Linked DNA regions of Homo sapiens: region 2 is linked to region 1. Evidence: promoter capture Hi-C in 16 types of primary human blood cells and fetal thymus (Javierre and others, 2016). All regions are on one chromosome and are shown on one strand. The core of a region is centred on a gene start or on the middle of the fragment in contact, and the rest is flanking DNA. Distances in the headings are between cores, read along the strand shown.

What was found. The method cuts DNA at HindIII sites, captures the fragments that hold promoters and counts their contacts. A CHiCAGO score of 5 or more calls a contact.
Region 2: a contact is called between a fragment that was not itself captured here and the fragment with the promoter of WNT16 in region 1, in 1 of 17 cell types (erythroblasts). The highest score is 6.6, in erythroblasts.

The regions. Positions count from the first base shown.
Region 1 is chr7:121,327,141-121,331,596 of GRCh38, reverse strand. WNT16 (Wnt family member 16) reads right to left here and starts at 2,597. Exons shown (of 4, transcript NM_057168.2): 1 at 2,210-2,597; 2 at 1,780-2,030. The coding sequence starts at 2,304. The HindIII fragment of the contact is 8,913 bases long and covers 1-4,456 here.
Region 2 is chr7:120,783,911-120,788,255 of GRCh38, reverse strand. It overlaps TSPAN12 (tetraspanin 12), which reads left to right. Exons shown (of 8, transcript NM_012338.4): 8 at 1-936. Among named protein-coding and RNA genes, the nearest start is that of TSPAN12, 72 kb to the left of the region's middle. The HindIII fragment of the contact is 1,146 bases long and covers 1,899-3,044 here.

The sequences.
Region 1 (4,456 bases), core at 1,348-3,847:
TACTGGACAAGTAATTTTTCAGTTGCTTACAATGGATGCGTTAACGAGTACATATTTAGAAAGGAAGATTTGCTCTTGTTCTAGTCTCTTAAAAAGCAACATTAATTTTCAGTATTCCACTTGAAGAGATTGTCATATACTGTATGGTCATACATTGTCCCTTTACCTTAAAATCATCTCTTTATTTTTTAAATTTGAAATGTATGTTTGCACCCAGTTCAGTGCACAGTTGACAGTCATAGCTCAGTAATACATGCTGAATTAAAAATTCTTTGCATAGATACTGTAAACGGTAATACAACACCCAAAGAACACTAGATTGCTTTTCTTTTGAAATTTAAAATGTGCTCTCACAGAACACAAGCTGAACATTTTGGTGTGATTTTTGTTTGCATAAATAATACGTGTCAGAATGAAAATTAAAATTAAGGAAAGACCAAAGCAATTAGTAAACGGTACCGTATATTTTCACATTAAAGATTAGTCTCACATTAACATGAAACAGTTAAACATTTTATATAGTATTAGCTACTCCTCTTACAGTCTTAAAGGCAATGAAAGGTAAGATAATTAAAATGTCACTAGCAAAAACATAATTCTATTAAAAATATTGAATATTGAAAATTATGCATTTAGCACACCTGCAGTAGAGTTTGAGCTAAAATCTTTGAAAATTAAAGTCCATTAAAACATTAATAACATGGACTAGAAGGGAATCAGCAGGCGACTTTTTTTTTTTCTTTCCAGATGTTTAGTTTGGAGTAGAAACAGTTTCATGCCCGCTGTCCAATAAACCTTTTCAACAGCTGATGCATTTCAGCAACTGTGAAAAACACATCTATTTTTTTTCTTTCTGTCTCTTTTTTTTTTTTTTTTTTTTTTCTCTCTACGGGGACCAGGGCTCCTTCGGAAGGGCGTGCCGGCCAGAACGCCGCGGGGGAGGTGCGCGGCTCGGCGGGGGTGCGCGCAGGGACTGCGTGGACAAGGGTCAAAGGCGGAGGGGGAACGGAAATGAACATGAAAAACGACAGCGCATCCTTCAGCGCCCCAGTCCTAACATTCTTTGGATCTGTTGATATTCCAGGAACAATCCTGGCTCCCTGTACCTTTATCCTTACCAAGTCACTACGCACGTGGAAGTGGAACTTTGTTTTCCTGCAGCTTCCCGCGCCGCGGGAGTGCGCCGAGGAGGGAAAGATAGAAAAGCCAAAGAAACGAGAAGCGCACAAGTGGTCCTGCTCAGGTTAGCCGCACGTTGGGTGGTCGCGGACAGTCGCTTTAAAAGTCACCATTATTCTGTCAACTCGGTGCTCCTAGGAGCCAATAAAGGTGGGGCTTCGCTGCAATTAGCCACTTGTCCGGGGTTTGGTGCGCAGCGGAGTTGGTTAAATCAAAGCAGATGCGGCAGCCGCATTCCCCGCTGCCGACATCATGTTTCTCCAGCTGGTCACCCACGTAGGGGGGCGCTACGGGGTCCGAGGGGGTCGGCGGGGTAGGAGAATTAGAGTTTTTTTTCCAACTCTGGCGGGGCACCGCAGGAAAGAGGAAGAGCTCCAGCCCCTAGAGCTCCGCTCTGGAACTGGGGAGTCACCTCCCTCCAGGCTCGCACCTGCTCCCCAGGTCTGGCCTTTGTAGCTCTCAATCCCCGTGCACTAAAGGGCTTCTTCTGGAACTTAGAGAGCTACAGGACCACGTAGCACTATTTACTTTATTTGCAGGAACCGGTGGAGGAGTTGTCGCCTTCCGTCCCCCACCAACCCCTAAGGACCCAGGACTCACCGCTGCTCAGCTCGTAGCCAAAGAGGGGGCTGGCGCCCATCGGGGCGGTAGTGGCGGCGGCGGTGATCATGCAGTTCCATCTCTCGTGTCTGAACTGGCTCCCGCACTCCTGAATGCCCAGCCGGGCGCCCTCTCGGATGCTCGGCAGCAGGTACGGTTTCCTCTTGCACAGCTCCTTCTGGCGGCTGTTCAGCGGCAAATTGGCGCAGCCCAGCTTCTCTGGAACCCCGAAGGAGGCAATGCCCAACCACCTGTAAGACACGGCCGCCCGTAGCGTTAAGCCGCTCCCCAATTCCAGATGTTTTCCGAAAAATTAGGTCACTCGTCTAAGGGTCCCCGCCCTTCTCCCCCAGCCTCAGTTGAAAGTTCCCTAGGATTGGGCACCCCTTTTGCCACCTACCCGATGCTTCCCTGCCACCTCCATACTCACATCCAGTTTCCTTGGGCTCCGTAGGGGAACAGCACGAGCAGGGCTGCCCACAGCGCGCACAAGCGGGCCAGTCCCAGGAGCGCCGCCCTGTCCATCGCCCCCGCATGGAGTCCCCCAGCCCAGCCGCTCCTCTTTTGCACCCCCTCCCCAGAGGCCCTTCGGGCCGCAGGTCAGTTGTCCAGCACCAAGTTATCCCTCGCCCTCTTCCTCCTTGCATACAACATTAAAAGGCCAGCAGTGATAGGGACTCTCAGCAGCTTCCCCCTCGTTTGCAGGGAGCTGTAGGAGAGATGGAGAGAGCAGCCTGGGGATCTCCTCCTGCGCAGGGGTGGAGATGTGCAGGAGATGCGGGAGCGCCCCTCGCATTCCTAGGTGAGAAACTTCTGTTGATGTATCCGCGTCTCCATCGCCCCCGGCCTCTCCTCCCATCTCCTCCCCCTGGCCGCGCCTGGAGCCTGATTGGCTGAGCAGCGGCCCCGCATCTCATCATCTCGGGACCTCAGGCTCTTATTGGTGGAGAGCGGCTCCGCGGGGGGCGCTCCGGGCACTGGCCTCAGGGACAGCGTGTCCAGACCTGGGTGTGTCATGACCTTTCCTGCTGTCACAGTCTCCTTAGAACGGGTCGTTGTGGGGTTGATTCAACCCGAAGACTAACAGGACGCTCTGTCTTAGCAACCTTGGGGGAAAGCGTGGGTTTGATGAGTCCCACCCATCCCACCAACATCTGGGTTACCCTCTGGGTGTAGTGGCTGGAAAATGTCACTGACCTTTTTTTCTTCTCCTTCACCTCACAGGAGAATAATCTTTTTGAGTCAGAGTTGGTACCGAACAAATTAACCTTCCAGTCCCCTGCTTGAGGTCCCACTGTCAGGAGACTTTAGAGAGTGGGTGAAGTGCTGTCAGGCTTACAATCACTGTCATTTATGTATGCATTTATTTTGAGCGAAAGAGAAGATTCCAGTCTAGCATCTCATCTGCCATATTTCAATCGTGCTCTGTGATTTCCTTTTCCCTATTTGTCTTATTTCCTGCAGTCCCTGAGAACGCTGTAAGTCCCCTGCAGAAGATGGGGACAAAGAAAGTGAGAGGTTTCTGGAGAGTTCTAGAGTACATGAGAGATGTGCTCTGATCTTTTTCTCCAGTCCTACCTTACGATTCTCATGGTGGGAGGGTCCCTGCCCTTCTCCCCCAACCTCAGTTGAAAGTTCGCTAGGATTGGGCACCCCTTTGCCACCTACCCGATGCGTCCCTGCAGGACAGGGCTACACATGGAAGACACATTTTTAAAAACGTACTTATTAAATACCTGCTGTGTGCCTAGTCCTGTGGGAATTTATAAAGACAAGCTCTCTTCCCACAACTGTACAAATAAACCATACACAAGTGTAAAAGAAAATACGTTTAGATGATCAGTAAGAGAGATTAAAGAATCTAGCAGGGTACTCCCTGGAGCCGAAGATAGTTCAGAAGCAGGAAGTGTTCCAGTTACTGGCAGATTTGGAAGGTTAGTTAATCAGTGTTTTGTAGGATGGAAGGTCTCCGAGAGTTATCTGAAGGCAAGTGCAACGTGTTTAGCTGTGGTATTGGGAAAGCCTGCCTCACCTAATTAGACACAAGAAATGTTTCTAAGAAGCATTATCTGTCCTTAGAGATCTTTTGAAGTGTTAATACATTCCCATGGTGGACGTATCAGCTCAGTGGGTACCCAAAGCCAAAATTACTTAAATAAAGGATTTGGGGCCAGGTGCAGTGGCTCACACCTGTAATCCCAGCACTTTTGGAGGCCAAGATGGGCGGATCACCAGAGGTCAGGAGTTCAAGACCAGCATGGCCAACATGGTGAAACCCTGTCCCTGCTAAAAATACAAAATTATTTGGGTGTGGTGGTGCATGCCTGTAATCCCAGCTACTCGGGAGGCTAAGACAGGAGAATTGCTTGAACCTAGGAGGTGGAGGTTGCAGTGAGTTGAGATAGCGCCACTGCACTCCAGCCTATGGCACACAGTGAGACTCCGACTCAAAAAAAAAAAAAAAAAAAGGATTAGATAGCATTAGCTGCTTATCTCCTATATCAATCAGTGAGCAATAAAAGCTCACTGAAATTTTCATCCTATCCCATTCACTCCCTTATCCAACAAATGTTTATTGAGTGTACACTATGTACCAGGTTCTAAAGCCACATTTTAAAGAGTCGAGGAGTCAAGTTGATGATAGGATGTAGATACTGATCCAGAAATATTTTGGCTA
Region 2 (4,345 bases), core at 1,222-3,721, 540 kb after region 1:
GGAGCCATAGTAAAGGTTGATTTACTTCTACCAACTAGTATATAAAGTACTAATTAAATGCTAACATAGGAAGTTAGAAAATACTAATAACTTTTATTACTCAGCGATCTATTCTTCTGATGCTAAATAAATTATATATCAGAAAACTTTCAATATTGGTGACTACCTAAATGTGATTTTTGCTGGTTACTAAAATATTCTTACCACTTAAAAGAGCAAGCTAACACATTGTCTTAAGCTGATCAGGGATTTTTTGTATATAAGTCTGTGTTAAATCTGTATAATTCAGTCGATTTCAGTTCTGATAATGTTAAGAATAACCATTATGAAAAGGAAAATTTGTCCTGTATAGCATCATTATTTTTAGCCTTTCCTGTTAATAAAGCTTTACTATTCTGTCCTGGGCTTATATTACACATATAACTGTTATTTAAATACTTAACCACTAATTTTGAAAATTACCAGTGTGATACATAGGAATCATTATTCAGAATGTAGTCTGGTCTTTAGGAAGTATTAATAAGAAAATTTGCACATAACTTAGTTGATTCAGAAAGGACTTGTATGCTGTTTTTCTCCCAAATGAAGACTCTTTTTGACACTAAACACTTTTTAAAAAGCTTATCTTTGCCTTCTCCAAACAAGAAGCAATAGTCTCCAAGTCAATATAAATTCTACAGAAAATAGTGTTCTTTTTCTCCAGAAAAATGCTTGTGAGAATCATTAAAACATGTGACAATTTAGAGATTCTTTGTTTTATTTCACTGATTAATATACTGTGGCAAATTACACAGATTATTAAATTTTTTTACAAGAGTATAGTATATTTATTTGAAATGGGAAAAGTGCATTTTACTGTATTTTGTGTATTTTGTTTATTTCTCAGAATATGGAAAGAAAATTAAAATGTGTCAATAAATATTTTCTAGAGAGTAATGATTTGTCTCTGCCTACTTTTTAATACATTACAAGCACTTATGCCACTTGAGAAGATTGTCAAGGGGAGAAAAACATGAGAAAGAATGATTGCATAAAGTATTAATATTGATTTCCAAACTCCGGAATGGACCTATAAGAATATGTATTTTCACTGAGAAGAGTCAAAAAGATGCCCATTTTTCACTTTTGCTTTTTACCTAAATGTTAAATAATATACTTGTTTGAGATAATATAAAAATATGCCCATTTGTGTTCATCTTTTCAATGTTTGCATATCACAGTTTTATAACTTATTAATTTTTAAGAGACTATGAGTCTCTTAGTTAATTTCAAATTCTCTTCAAATGAGTTAAGGAATATAATCCTTGAAATTGACTGCCATGTTTAAAATCTTCCATAGATTTTAATGAAAACTGAGTACATTACTTGTTCAATCAGAGCCAAAAGCATCCCTTTTAATAACTTCCTCAATACCCCAAATCCCTGTAATTTCACCTAAAATACCCACGTAACTGAGATAGCTATGTATGAGTTTTGTTTGAATTATTTGTATAATGGTCAAATTTAGCTGCTGCTTTTTTTGATATGTCTTACAGTCACAGCAAGAGCAAGCATATAATATGTTGGGCTCAGTAAAATAAAAAGTCCTCAAATTATAAAAGTTGCTTTCTACATTTTTAGACCTCAGATATTTTGATGTATTACCTGATACACTACCCTCTAGAATGGTCAACATAAATTTAGACAATCGTTTTGTATATAATACACTTGCTTAATGGGAATGAATGACATTTATAGCAGTAGCTCACAAAGCCTCTTATGGTAGCAGTGCACCTGGAATAATAAAACTGCAAGGGAGTTAAAAAAGTATATTTAATGCAGTAGAGCTGAGGGAGTTCACTATTTGGGTACATTGCAAACAAAACTGTTAACTGTTTCTTTGGGAATTTTTAAAAGCTTTCTTTGGTTAAAAAAAAAAATCACCATTTTTTAAAAGTAGAAATTTAAGAAGATTATTTTTAGACTGGTTAAAAGTCCATTCAAAGTGCCCTGGAGACTCAGAGATGGCAACAAGAGATGATGTCTGTCCTTAAACACTGTAGAATCTGGGTTAGAGACACTTGTGCTAACCACAGGAAAAATAAATAAGGGAATATGCAGTGAGTGGGGCCCTTCTTAAGAATAAGAGATGGAGTAGAGTGGAATTAAGGCAGCTATGCCAAGGAGATGGCGTTCAAGCTGGATCAGAAGGAGCAGTGGAGTCTAGCTGGCTCATGGAAAATATTCCATGAGCCATGAGTTTGAGGTTAAAAAGTATACATTATTTTGGAGTTATGACTTATGGTTCAATGTGGTTAGATCATAGAATGATTGAAGAGATGCCATGGGACAGGAAATGAATGAAATTTGAGTTTGGGTGCTTTGTTCTGTAGGCCCAAAGTAAAGTCACCGAAGCAATTTCAGAAAGAGAAATGATGAATATTTCATTAATTTAACTGGATTAGCCAAGTGAGAAAGAGGGGACCAGGAGACAGTTATACTTATTTTGCAACTCCTGGGTGGGTGGGCCACCATTGACCACAGCCTAGGTAAGTGGAGCACTTGAGAGTTGTACACACTGCAGGCCCTGGCAGGAGACTGAATAGATTGCTGTTGTTGTGGTCCTGGAGAGGGATAAGGATCCTCACCAGGACAATGGAAGTCAAAAAACAGAGTGCATAAAACAGATCACAACAGGGTGAATCCACAAAAATTGGCAGTAGCTAGACCTCAGGGAGTGTGGGACAAGAAGTAAAAGTACTGAAATTTCTGGATTTTGTGCCTGGCAAATTGGCAATGGCATTAACCTAGATGGAAGACTGGAGGGGAACGAGTATGAGAGGGTAATTAATTTGGTCTGAGACACAGAGTTGGAGATGCCTGCAGGACATGCAGATGGAGATGTCTACAGGCAGCTGTAAATTTCAGTCTGGAGCTCAGGAGAATTCACTGTCAAGCCTGAGAATTTTTATGCATTGCTTTCCCATCTCAGGAAGCCTGACAGAAAATGGGCTGGGAACCAAATCTTATATGAGGAGAATCTTAAATAGATTGCCACAGAAGCTTCCTTTTGTCTGAATTCCCTCTCCTGTGGATGAGTCAAGGGAGGTAAAGAAAGAAGAAATCACTATACTACTGAATCTTCTCTGGCAAAGAAGCTGCCCCTTTTTTAAAACACTGCCAACTGCTATGTTGCTTCACCCAACCCCCTTCCTATTGTCATCCTGAGATTTACAAGCAGATTCGTCTCCCCTGTGAACTGAGTTCTCATTTCCTCACATCCTAGAAACATATATAGGAGAATCTTTGGTATCATCTTGATCTTGAAAGCTTTTCTTTTTCTATTTTTATGTGTTAATTGCAATCACTCTTTACCTCATACTTTCAGGGGTGCGTACTAGGTACCAGGCACATGTAGGAGGTGCTTTACACTTATTTTCTCTGTTCTTCACAACTCATTTGCAATTTGCAGGCACCCCACTTTATTTTACAAATGAACAAGAGGGACTCCAAGAGACTGAATACATTTACTTAGCTAATATGTGGCAGAGCTATACTTCCACTTTCCCCATTTTGTGGCATGGTATCTTCACCAGCCTGTGGTGAAGCTCAGATGATTCTTTACCTAGAAAAGCCAAATTCTCCTACATGTAAATCAATATCACCAGGCCAAATCAAAATGATGCTCTTGTCTAACCTCATTCCTACTATTATTTCCCAAGAACAAGTATAAATTATCTAAAATATCTTGTACACACACATACACACACAGGCAAATTAAGTTCTGTTTTTTTTGAGACAGAGTCTCACACTGTCACCCAGGCTGAAGTCAGTGGTGCAACCTCGGCTCACTGCAACCCCTGCCTCCCAGGTTCAAGCGATTCTCCTGCCTCAGCCTCCCAAATGTCTGGGATTACAGCTGTGCATCACCACGCCTGGCTAATATTTTGTATTTTTAGTAGAGATGGGGTTTCACTATGTTGACCAGGCTGGCCTTGAACTCCTGACCTCATGATCCGCCCACCTCAGCCTCCCGAAGTGCTGGGATTACAGGCATGAGTCACCATGCCCAGCCCAAATTAAGTTCTTTAATCAACTTTATTGAGATTTTATATACATATATATATAAAAACATACTATATATATATACACACACACATACACACACACACACCCCTAATAAATATACCCCTTTCAAGTATATAGTTAATTAGTTTTGGCAACTATATATACTCATGTAACCACAACAACAATCGAGATCTAGAACATTTTCATCGTGTCAAAAAGTTTCCTCTTGCCCATCTGTGATAAATCCTGCATTCCCCTCTCCTAGCCCCAGGCAACACTGATCTGTTAACTATCACTC